Linked DNA regions of Homo sapiens: region 1 is linked to region 2. The links are contacts of gene promoters, found by promoter capture Hi-C in human tissues and cell types (Jung and others, 2019). All regions are on one chromosome and are shown on one strand. The core of a region is centred on a gene start or on the middle of the fragment in contact, and the rest is flanking DNA. Distances in the headings are between cores, read along the strand shown. Region 1 has its middle 13 kb from the start of FAM174B. Region 2 holds the start of SLCO3A1 (solute carrier organic anion transporter family member 3A1).

Evidence for each region. Contacts are between HindIII fragments. The study calls those that stand out against the background at their distance.
Region 1: a fragment that was not itself captured here is called in contact with the fragment with the promoter of SLCO3A1 in region 2 in 2 of the 25 tissues and cell types used here (bladder and dorsolateral prefrontal cortex).

Annotation. Positions count from the first base shown.
Region 1 is chr15:92,666,111-92,671,723 of GRCh38, forward strand. No RefSeq gene overlaps it. Among named protein-coding and RNA genes, the nearest start is that of FAM174B, 13 kb to the left of the region's middle. The HindIII fragment of the contact is 4,660 bases long and covers 1,193-5,613 here.
Region 2 is chr15:91,850,506-91,855,752 of GRCh38, forward strand. It overlaps SLCO3A1 (solute carrier organic anion transporter family member 3A1), which reads left to right and starts at 3,203. Exons shown (of 10, transcript NM_013272.4): 1 at 3,203-3,583. The coding sequence starts at 3,404. RefSeq lists silencers at 2,625-2,799, 2,668-2,807. The HindIII fragment of the contact is 13,420 bases long and covers 1-5,247 here.

The DNA.
Region 1 (5,613 bases), core at 2,273-4,772, 820 kb after region 2:
ACCTCAGGTGATCCACTCGCCTCAGCCTCCTGAAGTGCTAGGATTACAGGCATGAGCCACCATGCCCAGCCTCATGCATTAGTGTTTTATGAGAAAGACATTTTATTTCTTTACCTAAAAGGATTTTTTTTAATACTAACATTGCTGTTGTCAAAATATCTTCAGAAGGACACATGACAGACTCATAATGTTGGTTGCCTATGGCAGAGGGTGACCAACCATCCCAGTCTGCTGGGGTTTCAGGAGTCTCCTGGGATGAGGACATTTCAGAGCTAAAACAGAAAGTCCTAGACAAAGCAGGACCAGTTGGTCACCCTACCTAGGCAGGGGAACTCTGGATGGCTGGAACAGGGGCAGGAAAGGGAATAGTAACTGTATCCCTTCATGCATTTGGAATGTTGAACTATGTAAACTTATTGCTGGTTAAAAAAAAATAGGTTAAAAATGTTCTGTCAGTATCATATGAGAGGACTCTTTTTAAATCAGTAGATCACTAAGCGTAGCAAAGAAAAGGTTACTGGACCTATGCAAAATTTATATCAATACATTTAAGGTCTGCTTTATTATTTCATTTGTTTCTGAAATATGTCCTCCAAAAGACTTCACAATTATTCACCAAAAAAACTCAAAAATTTGCAGTTCTTTAATCCTCATTCTCACAACACCAGGCCACTGAGGCTCACACTGTTGTTCCATTTTGAAGATTAGGAAATGGAGACCTAATGAGGTTATCTGACTTGCCCCAGGGTTGGAAATGAGCGTGCCATGCAGCCCGTGTCCCCAGGGCCGCCCTCTCCCGTGCTGGCCTACTTTACAGCTGGCTAGTATCGTCAAACCATGGAAACAGCGAGCTGTTGCCAAAGAGAAATATTTCTATGAAAGTTTCTGAAGTGTCCCCTAGGAGAGCCTGCAGACGTCAGTGACGACATAATATTGCTGACAGAGCCCTCCCCACCAATCGTGCTGCTCAGAGAGTGCCACCCATGGAGCAACTTTTTAGGAGATTCCCACAGGATGGAAAGTCCTGAGGTGCATACGTGGAGGGACCCCACCTTTGAGCTCAGGTGGACCATCTGTCCACAGTTCCTTTCACAGTGCAGTACTTTTCCCATACACATCAAAGTTGCTTTGGATCGAGAGGCGAAGACCAGCAGGGCAGAGCTAAGCAGGCCACAGACATCTTTCCCCAGAAAAGCTGAGGGTGAGAGGCAGGGCGGTTCACCCTCCGGATGGCTGTTTGTAAAGTAAATATTGATTTTGAGCCATCCCCCAACCTGCTCAGGAAAACACACCAGCTGTTGCTTCTGCCTGCAGCTCCAAGTGGCAGTCACTCCCATGTCCAGAAACATCCTCTCCATACCTGTCCCCACTGCAATTCCCACAGCTGGCATCGTCAGCCTCTCCGTGACAGTGGAGTTAGACCTCACGTTTGCAGGAATTTGTGTTTTAATTCCCAGGCAGAGCTCGGGCCTCTGAGGGTTAGGGACACAGAAAAGGTCAGTTTGGGGATGGCCCCGGGTGGATGGCTGTTTCTCCTGTTCCCCACAGTGTGGAGCCCAAACCTTCACCCCTGTGTTGATGCATCCTAGACCCACTTTGGACATTTCCACCTCACAAGTAACGTTGGCAGCCACTTCCCGAGAGGCGCTGCTCTGCGTTCCTGACCATTTTTTTCTCACTCCTCTCCAGCCTCAGGGATACACCCTCCTGTTTGAGACCAGCCCCCACACGTTGGCCCTGAGTTCAACCCTCCTCCACCTCCTCTGAGGCTCTGCTTCACGCATTACCTCTGCTTCCTCCTGTATCTTCACCCTCCAGTAGATATTTCCCATTCTGGTTTCTCACTGAGAAAGAAAAGAAAAGAGAAACCAAGAGGGAGAGAGGGAGAGAGAAAGAGAGAGAGAGGGGAAGAGGAGAGGGGAAGGAAGGAAGGAAGGAAGGAAGGGAGGGAGGGAGGGAGGGAGGGAGGGGGAACGGGAGGGGGAATGGGAGGGAGGGAGGGGGAGCGGGAGGGGAGAGCCTACAACTTTGTGTGTCTCCCTTTTGCCCTCCCTGAACCTCTAAGTGGCATTTGATGATGCCAGGGCTTCCTGCCTTGGAGGTCTCCAGTTTTCTATCTTCCCTCTGACCTCTCTGTCCCCTCTCTCGGGAGCTGGCTCCTCTCCCTTTTAACTCAGTCCCCAGGGCTTCCTGCTGAGTTCTTTTCTCACTCTGGCCCCTCTCCCTGGGTTCTCAGGTACCCAGCATGTCCCACACAAGATTCTTCATCGTTCCCCAAAACCTGCCCTACCTCCAGAGCTCCTACGCTCTGCTGGCCACCACACTGCACTTGGCGGAGGCAGGAACCTAGGGGTCCCCCTACAATCCCCCCATTACTAAGTCCTTCCTCTTCTCTCCAGAAACAGTCCAAATCCAACCACGAGTAAGTTAGTGTAACTTGTTTGTTTATACGTCTCTCAAAACACACACACACACACACACACACGTAATGTCCATCAAATCAGGAGTTGTGTCTGTTTTGTTCATTGGCTATTTCTTCATCAACCAGAAATGTATCTGGCACACAGTAAGTGCTCAATAAATGTTGCTGGACTGAATGGATAAGTACCTACTGCCGTAGTTTATAGCAAGCAACAGGAGTTGAGTGCACGTATTTAAAGTCAGAAGGCAAGAGCTGGAATCTTGGCTTTGCCATTTACTCTCAGTGTAACTTGCACTAAATTAAACCTTAAGTCTCAATTTCCTCACCTGTAATATGGGCATAAAGATAGCAGCTCACTTATCATTAGGATTAAATGAGATAGCACATGTAGAGAACTTAGCATAATAACTGGTACGTATTAAGTCATCAATAAACATTACATATTATGTTTCTTATTGTTGTTCTTTCCTGTCCTCATGTGTCACCTGTATTATAACATCCTTCCAACCGTTCTCCAAGACTCCAGGCTCCTCTCTTCAGGAGAATTCCCACCCTAACATCGTAATCAGAGTGATCTGTCCAAATGCAAAATCAAGCATAATACTCCCTTGCTGAAAACCCTTATGGGGTTTAAACTCTGCCAGTAGAGTCCTAATTCCTTAGTATGGGCCCAGCTTCCCCACCCCCACCTCCCAGCACCCCAAACTCTAAATTCACTAAACTCCTAGCTTCATCTACCCTTACCTCCCAGCACCCCAAACTCTAAATTCACTAAACTCCTAGCTTCATCTACCCTTACCTCCCAGCACCCCAAACTCTAAATTCACTAAACTCCTAGCTTCATCTAACCCTTACCTCCCAGCACCCCAAACTCTTAACTTTACTAAACTCCTTCCATCCGAGCCTTTGCCTAAACTGCTCCCTGGTTCTTCCACCAGGAATGCTCTTCCTTAACCCTCTCCTCTCCATTTTTTGCTTAAAGAACTCCTCCTAATCATTCTACAAACAAGACATAAGCTCCTTTGTGAAGATTTTGCTAATCTCTTCTGCACAATCCCCCACCACCCCATACAAATTCACCCCTGCCCACACACATTCCTCTAGGACAGTTAAGGTGGACCAGCTGTCCCAGTCCAGGCAGGAATGAAGAAGTTGCCCAGAATGTGAGACTTTCAGTGCTAAAACTAGGAGAGTCCGGGGCAAACAAGGGCAACTCTAATAGCACAGATCACATTGTTTTGGAGTTAGCTGTCTTTCTGATAAGATTGGAGGCAGCAGAAAGCTTACTTTGATCATCTTCGTGTCCCCAACACCTATCCTGGTGTCAGGCACTTATATAGCCCATACTCAATAAATAGGTGCTGAACGCATTATTGAGGTAGTGTGGAGGCAGTGGAGGAACTAAAGGCCGTGGTTCGGATCCCATCCCCTCGCTGTATGACCTTAGGCAAGTTATTATTTTCATTTGTATATTTGTTTGTTACTGAATGATTGAAGGCAAATTTCTTGGTCTCGGCCTCTGTTTCCTCATTTGTAAAATGGACATAATACCAATTTCGTAAGAATGTTGTAAAGATTAAATGCATGTAGGGGCTGGGCGCGGTGGCTCACGCCTGTAATCCCAGCACTTTGGGAGGCCGAGGCGGGCAGATCACGAGGTCAGGAGATCGAGACCATCCTGGCTAACACGGTGAAACCCCGTCTCTACTAAAAATACAAAAAATTAGCCGGGCATGGTGGCGGGCGCCTGTAGTCCCAGCTACTCGAGAGGCTGAGGCAGGAGAATGGCGTGAACCCGGGAGGCGGAGCTTGCAGTGAGCCGAGATCGCGCCACCGCACTCCAGCCTGGACAACAGAGGGAGACTCCATCTCAAAAAAAAAAAAAAAAAGCATATGAAGTGCTTAACACAATGCCAGGCATATAACAAGCTTTCAATAAATGTTAGCTGCTATTTATATTCACTTTTTTTAAAGAGTTAGCACAGTGCATTCAATAAGGGTTTGTTCCCTTCTCCCCATTAAACAAATTAATACAGGTGGCCTTAAATGTAATTATACCACAGAGAAGGCTTCCCTTAGGACAGGGATCAGCCACCTTGGTTGCACATTAGAATCCCCTGGAGGACCTTACAAACACTGATGCTCAACTCCAGGCCAATTAATTCAAATCTTTGATGGATCCATGCATCAGCACGTTTAAAGGGCTCCCCTGAGGAGTCTAATAGGCAGCCAGTTGAGAACTTCTGCCTTAGGGCACTGGGTTGTGGCTCTTTACCTCTTAATTGCTGTACTGGGTCTTTCCAAAGTTATCCCTACTCTAGCTATTGTCAACCGCAAGTGTTTAATACCCTCTGTTCCCTTCACTTTGTCTTCAGGGCAGGAACTGGAGAATTCTCAGCTCCCTAACCATTCCTGGCCTGTCCCCAAGTTCCTAACAGCTTTTCACAGCTTGCCTATCCCTTCAGAGCCTTCACAGCTTGATATTCCCCCAGGAAGTTGAAGAAATGAAAAAGAGGTCACTTCATCTGTGTCTTCCTTAAGGGGACAGATGGTTCCATTTTCTAGCCAGTGTTTCTCAAACTGGAGTCCACAGACATGTTCTCAGGGACCCGCCAGTTCTGTATGAGGATTTTTTTTCTTTGCATTTTCAATTTGCTAATAATCTAAAAATATTACTATTGTCATTAACTGGTTGCCCCTTTATAAAAGACTGCAAGATTTGAGTGCCCCTACAAAATTCGGTATTTGAGGGGTTTTCATTTGTTTGCTTTGTGAGACAGGGCTCTCACTGTCACTCAGGCTGAAGTGCGGTGTTATGATCATAGCTCACTGCAGCCTCGAACTCCCAGACTCAAGCCATCCTCCCTCCTCAGCCTCCTGAGTAGCTAGAACTACAGGCGTGAGCCACCACACCTAGCTGATCTTTGAGTTGTGTAAAGGCAATGCACACATACAGATTTCGAATTAGTTCAGATAGAAGGACCAAGCAGGGAACCAAATCCTCCCATGGCACAAAGCAATTGAAGCAAAACAGACTCCAAATGACCAGCAAGTAGTTGTTAGTCTCAAATTAGCTGCAGAAACAGATGCAGTTTGTGCATCCTGTCAAAACGTAAGTGTTTGCAGCAGTTCATTAGCAGTGAGTAGTAAATATACATTTACTAAGATATTTTCTTCTCCCATTCCAAAAA
Region 2 (5,247 bases), core at 1,953-4,452:
CGACCCAGGAAGTCCAGCTGGCTTCACCTCTCACTCCCACCAATTTGGGGTGGCAAATGTAGACTCAATTCCTGCCACTTGCTGGCGGTGAGCTCCCAAAATCCACCTACTGTTGTTTCTTTTGAGAAAAAAAAGGGGCTAATAAGACCAGCTCTCCCTGTTGTAAGCTTCAGCTGAGATACAGGACATAGAAGTACTTCATAAGCATTAACGTGCTGTACAGATACAAGGATGTTTACTATTTTTCTGCTGCTTCCTCTATCTGCATACGGGGCTAGGGGAATGCCAAGCAGAAGCACTTGGTGCTCATAAACCCACCTTATCATCCCTGGAGCCCTGATCTACAAGTAAATAAAGGATGAGCAAAGAAGGAAGGGAGTTGAACTTGTTAAATTCCTTCTTTCTGACTGTTGTGAGGCCGCAGCCTGATTTCCCTGAGGCTGACTTTGATGATTCTTTAGGCTTCAGGCACCAGGATTACTTTCATGGCTGCTTACCATTAATTATAGGAAGAATCCACAACCCTAATCCGAAATCCTTTATCTGACAGCAAAAGTGTGTGATTTCTCTAAAGACAGCTAATTTTTTAATCTAAAATAAATGGTTAAGCTGAAAGAAGGCTGTGCCCTTCTCAGTCTGTACATGAGGCATTGTGGCATAGAACAAAAAGGGCTGGCCGGGCGTGGTGGCTCATGCCTGTAATCCCAGCACTTTGGGAGGCTGAGGCAGGTGGATCACCTGAGATCAGAGTTCGAGACCAGCCTGACCAACATTAAGAAACCCCGTCTCTATTAAAAATACAAAATTAGCCGGGTGTGGTGGCACGTCTGTAATTCCAGCTACTCCAGAGGCTGAGGCAGGAGAATCACTGAAACCCGGGAGGTGGAGGTTGCCATGGGCCGAGATCGCACCATTGCACTCCAGCCTGGGCAACAAGAGCGAAACTCCATCTCAAACAAACAAACAAACAAAAAAGAACAAAAAGGGCTGGACATGGATGCAAGTTTTGTTCCTTTCCAGCTTTATAAAAGAGGAACAACATAAGTCCCAGCCTCCCCATCAGATGAACCACACTGCGTGATAAACGAGATAATATGTATGTAGTTATAAAGAACCTGGGCTATGATGGCAGACAACCTGGTTTTCAAAGACTTGCCCTGCCACTTACTAGACAAGTGACACTGGTCAGGTTAACCTTTCTAGGCCTCAGTTGTCTCATCTGTAAAACAAGGCTAATAATAGTATCTGGTTTAGAGGATTGCTGTGAGGATTACGTTGTAAATGCGGGTGAAGCACTGAGAATGGTGTCTGGCCATAATAAGCACACAGTAAACATTAGCTCTTGTTATTACAAAGAATGTAAATAAGAGTTGAAGACTATAAAGCACTCCGCACATTTCATTAGCAATGGGGTCACCATTCGTAGACAAGTCTCAGCTCAGCTTTGCAGCTTACCGTCACAGAGGCAGGGAACAGAGCTAGCTTGTCAAGGGTCTTCTCAGGAGGAAGTGGGGAGGTAGCCCATGAAGCAAAGTGATGGGGAGGGAAAGAGGGGGACATAAAGATCCTGCAGAGAAGTTGGCTCCGAGTGATAGGAGGGTGTGGGGAAGAAAGAAGGGGGCAGTAAGGATTCTCATTATAGGACTGGCCGGGAATGGTGTGACCACTGATTCAGGAAGTGGGGAAGACGGGAAGAGACTTCAAGTGTGGGGGGAGCCAATTCAGATAGGAGGTGGCCTAGACAAGGTGAGGGCATCTCAAAGCGACACCAAGCCTGGGTGAGATCACGTCTGGAGCCACAGAAGGATGAAGCAGTTTATATTTAAATGCCATGGCAAAACAACATCCCCACCATTACACCCTCCATTCTCATTCAAGTTCTTCGGGAGAAAGGAAAAATATGGTCGGGTTCATTGCTATTCAGTTTTGAAGTTGAGCCTGCATTTGGACACAGGCGCTTGGGAGAGTGGGTCATTTTCTTTGACACAATTATTAAGGAAACCGTTTTAAATGATTCCTTGAGTCCCCCAATGGCCCAGGTGGAAGGTGCTGTTTCCTGGTACCTGTCCAGCCCTCTGAGCTTTTCTCTCAGCTTCCAAACGCTGCAGTTGAGAACTAGCAGATCCTATTGGTAGTGCCCTGTGGCCCACACTCCTTGGTAACGGTGAGAGTGGGGAGTAATTAGGAGCGGCTGCCATGGGCCAGGCATTCAGGTCAAGGCCGAGGATGGTGGCCAGGGCCACAGAGCCAGGGGACGGGTGGGGACCCAGCAGGCCTGCGGCTGGCCGCTTGCTGAGCGCTCCAGCAGCGGGGCCCTGGGCGGATGAAGGGCCGGAGAAGGCCCTCTGCTGGGGCCGCGGCGATCTTGCAGCGCCTGGACACCGAGGCTGGGGCACTAACGGTCCGTGGGGCTCCCGACGTATTCCTCTAACTTCCCCTTTCTGTCCTTTCGGTCTGGGGCCTTTTCAACACCCCCTGTGGCCGGGGACAGCTGGGGCAGAAACCGGCAGGCGGCAGAAGCCTCAAGCAGCTCTGACCTCTGGCACCTCCCCAAGACCCAGAGCACAACATCTGTCCCCAGAAATCCCCGGGCGGAGAAGAGCGCGCGCCAAGCCCTTCCTGGGTACTCAGTATTCTCCCTTCCTGGGAACAGCCTGCCCTCTGAGGCCTGGGCACCCGGGTTCCCGAGCGCCGGGTCCCAGCCCCGCGGGGGCGCCTCCGCACCCCATCTCCGCGCCCGGCGCAGAGCCGCCAGTCTCCGCCGCGGGGCCCCGTGCCCCGCAGCGCCACCTAGGGGCCGGGCGCCGCCTCCCGCCCTCAGGGGCACCCCCCTTACTCCGCAAGGACTCCGGGTCTCCCCAGTTCTCCCGGCAGCCGGACCCTCCCAGCCTCGGCCGCCGGGCCGCCCTCCGCATCCCAAGCCCGCCTCCCGTGCCTCCCCGGGGGCGCACCGGCAGCGAGGAGCGGCTCGGCGAGGGCGCGCAGCGGCGGCCCAGGCCCAGGCCTTGGGGCTGGGGCTGAGGGGGTGAGAGCAGGCGCGGCCGGCGGGCAAGGGGAACCGGGCGATGGCAGCGGCGGGCGGCCGCGGGAGGCGAGGCAGCGGCGGCGGCGGGCGGCGCGACGAGCCCCTGTGATTGGCACAGCCGGAGCCGGAGGAGGAGGCCAGGGGAGGGCGGAGGCGGGGGAGGAGGAGGAGGAAGGGGCGATCGCGGCGGCGGCGGCGGCGGCGAGGAGCTGTGCCTTCCACCTCTCCAGCCCCGGCAGGACGGGGGCGGCCGCCGCGAACCCGGGGCGGGGACAGCACGCAGCCTCGAGGCGCGCACCCCCGCCCGGCAGCGGCCCCGACACCCGGGGCGAGCGGGAAAGCGGCAGCGGCGGCGGCGGCGGCGGCGGCGGGGGAAGGATGCAGGGGAAGAAGCCGGGCGGTTCGTCGGGCGGCGGCCGGAGCGGCGAGCTGCAGGGGGACGAGGCGCAGAGGAACAAGAAAAAGAAAAAGAAGGTGTCCTGCTTTTCCAACATCAAGATCTTCCTGGTGTCCGAGTGCGCCCTGATGCTGGCGCAGGGCACGGTGGGCGCCTACCTGGTGAGTCCCCGAGCCAACTCCGCCGCGGGCCCCTTCCCCAGCCCGGCTCTCGAGCGGCCGCCTGGCCCGACGAGGGGGCCGCCCGGCGCTGGGGGCAGGCGGGCATGACCTCGGCCCGGCGTGGAGGTTGGCGAGTGGTGCAGAGGCGGCCGCCGGGGGAGCTGCCGGCCGGGGCTGCCAGCGAGCGGGTAGCGGGCGGGACCGTTGATGCCGGTAGCAGCTCGCGCGCGTCCGGCTGGGGCAGGGGGTGCCGGGGGAGGAGAGGCGGCGGGCAGGTGGGCGTGAAACTATTCCTCTCCCCCCATAAGAGCGGAGCGAGACGGTGAGTTCAGGGTTCTCCTTGGAGAGGAACGAAAAAGCGTCGGGGTTTTCAGGTGACCTGCACATGGGAAGAAAAACCAGTTAGCATCCTGCGTCCTCTACTCTCCATTGCATCCTCCTCGAGAACAAATCTATTATGCATCATTTTCTCCGGGCGCTTTCTACATCCGCCAATTACAGGGGGATATAACAGCTTAGAGTGAAATGCGCCCTAGTGTGGCCCTGGCCTGAGCCGGGGCTGCAGGGGGAATATTGCCACCCGGTATCCCTATAGCCCTCTTTGAGCGTCTGGGATAAAGTTACGGTACCTAGAGAGCAGCTGCGAGTTTGTGTAGTTCCTGCTATCCACTCTTAGTGCTAAATTCCCCATCGTGGTCTGTCGCCTACAGAAGGTTGCACCATTTTCCACAATGAATATGTATTTTATTTGCCTCCAGAAAGGGGATGTTAATGCTCAGAGGGCCCATGGGTGCGTAACATTTCAGAGGAAACAGCTTGTAATGACTCAGCACTGTCAGGTACCTACTTTGTCGCTTTCGCCTCCTCTGCTCAGGTGGTCGCAACTTGAGTTCCAGAGAGCGTGCTTCCACACCTAAGTACAGTCCTGTCTAAACGGGAAATTTTTTTTGAGAGTTTATAGTGTTAAATCATTACTTGGCTATTGACCCGCAACTGGAATCAAATGTCATAGACTTTGAGTATTCCTGAGCAAGTTTGATGGAGATAGAATTGGACAAGATTTTGGCCATTGAATAACCACATCCAGAGATAGAACCACGCGTATCCTGATGCTATGATTAATCCCTCATTCCTGGCCTTGGGGTAAAGTTCATGAGGGCCAGACGCTGGGGGCTGTATACCATTCATAAACTATCTCTTAAGGCTCAGGGCTCACTGTTAAAGGGAAATACAAGCAGTGCTTGGTCTCCGGTGTTGAGGAAGTTAGGTGGTTGTGAGAGAGGGGGTCTTCAAACTCAGCTCTGTTCCTGGGGTGACAGAATTTCAGGGCTTTTGAAAATCAAATACATTTCTGTTGCTCATTCTGAGACGAAAAGCGTTTACATCCCGGTCTCTGTCTTGTGCATTCGTAACTTGTAGACTGCAAGTGAACCCTGTAGTCAAAAGCATACCTTGTTTTCTGTTCTATAAAATACACTTATTGTGTCTATAGTTATAATATGCAGTTGCAGACAGTACCTATTAGCCCTTGGAATTTGAGGGATAGGGGATAATTGTGTTTTGGGAGTCAGTTTATCGGCACTTCCTTAGGGGAAATTTAACTGTTAAAATATTTAAATAAGTACATGTATTACAGAGATGCAAATTCACATTAATAAAATATA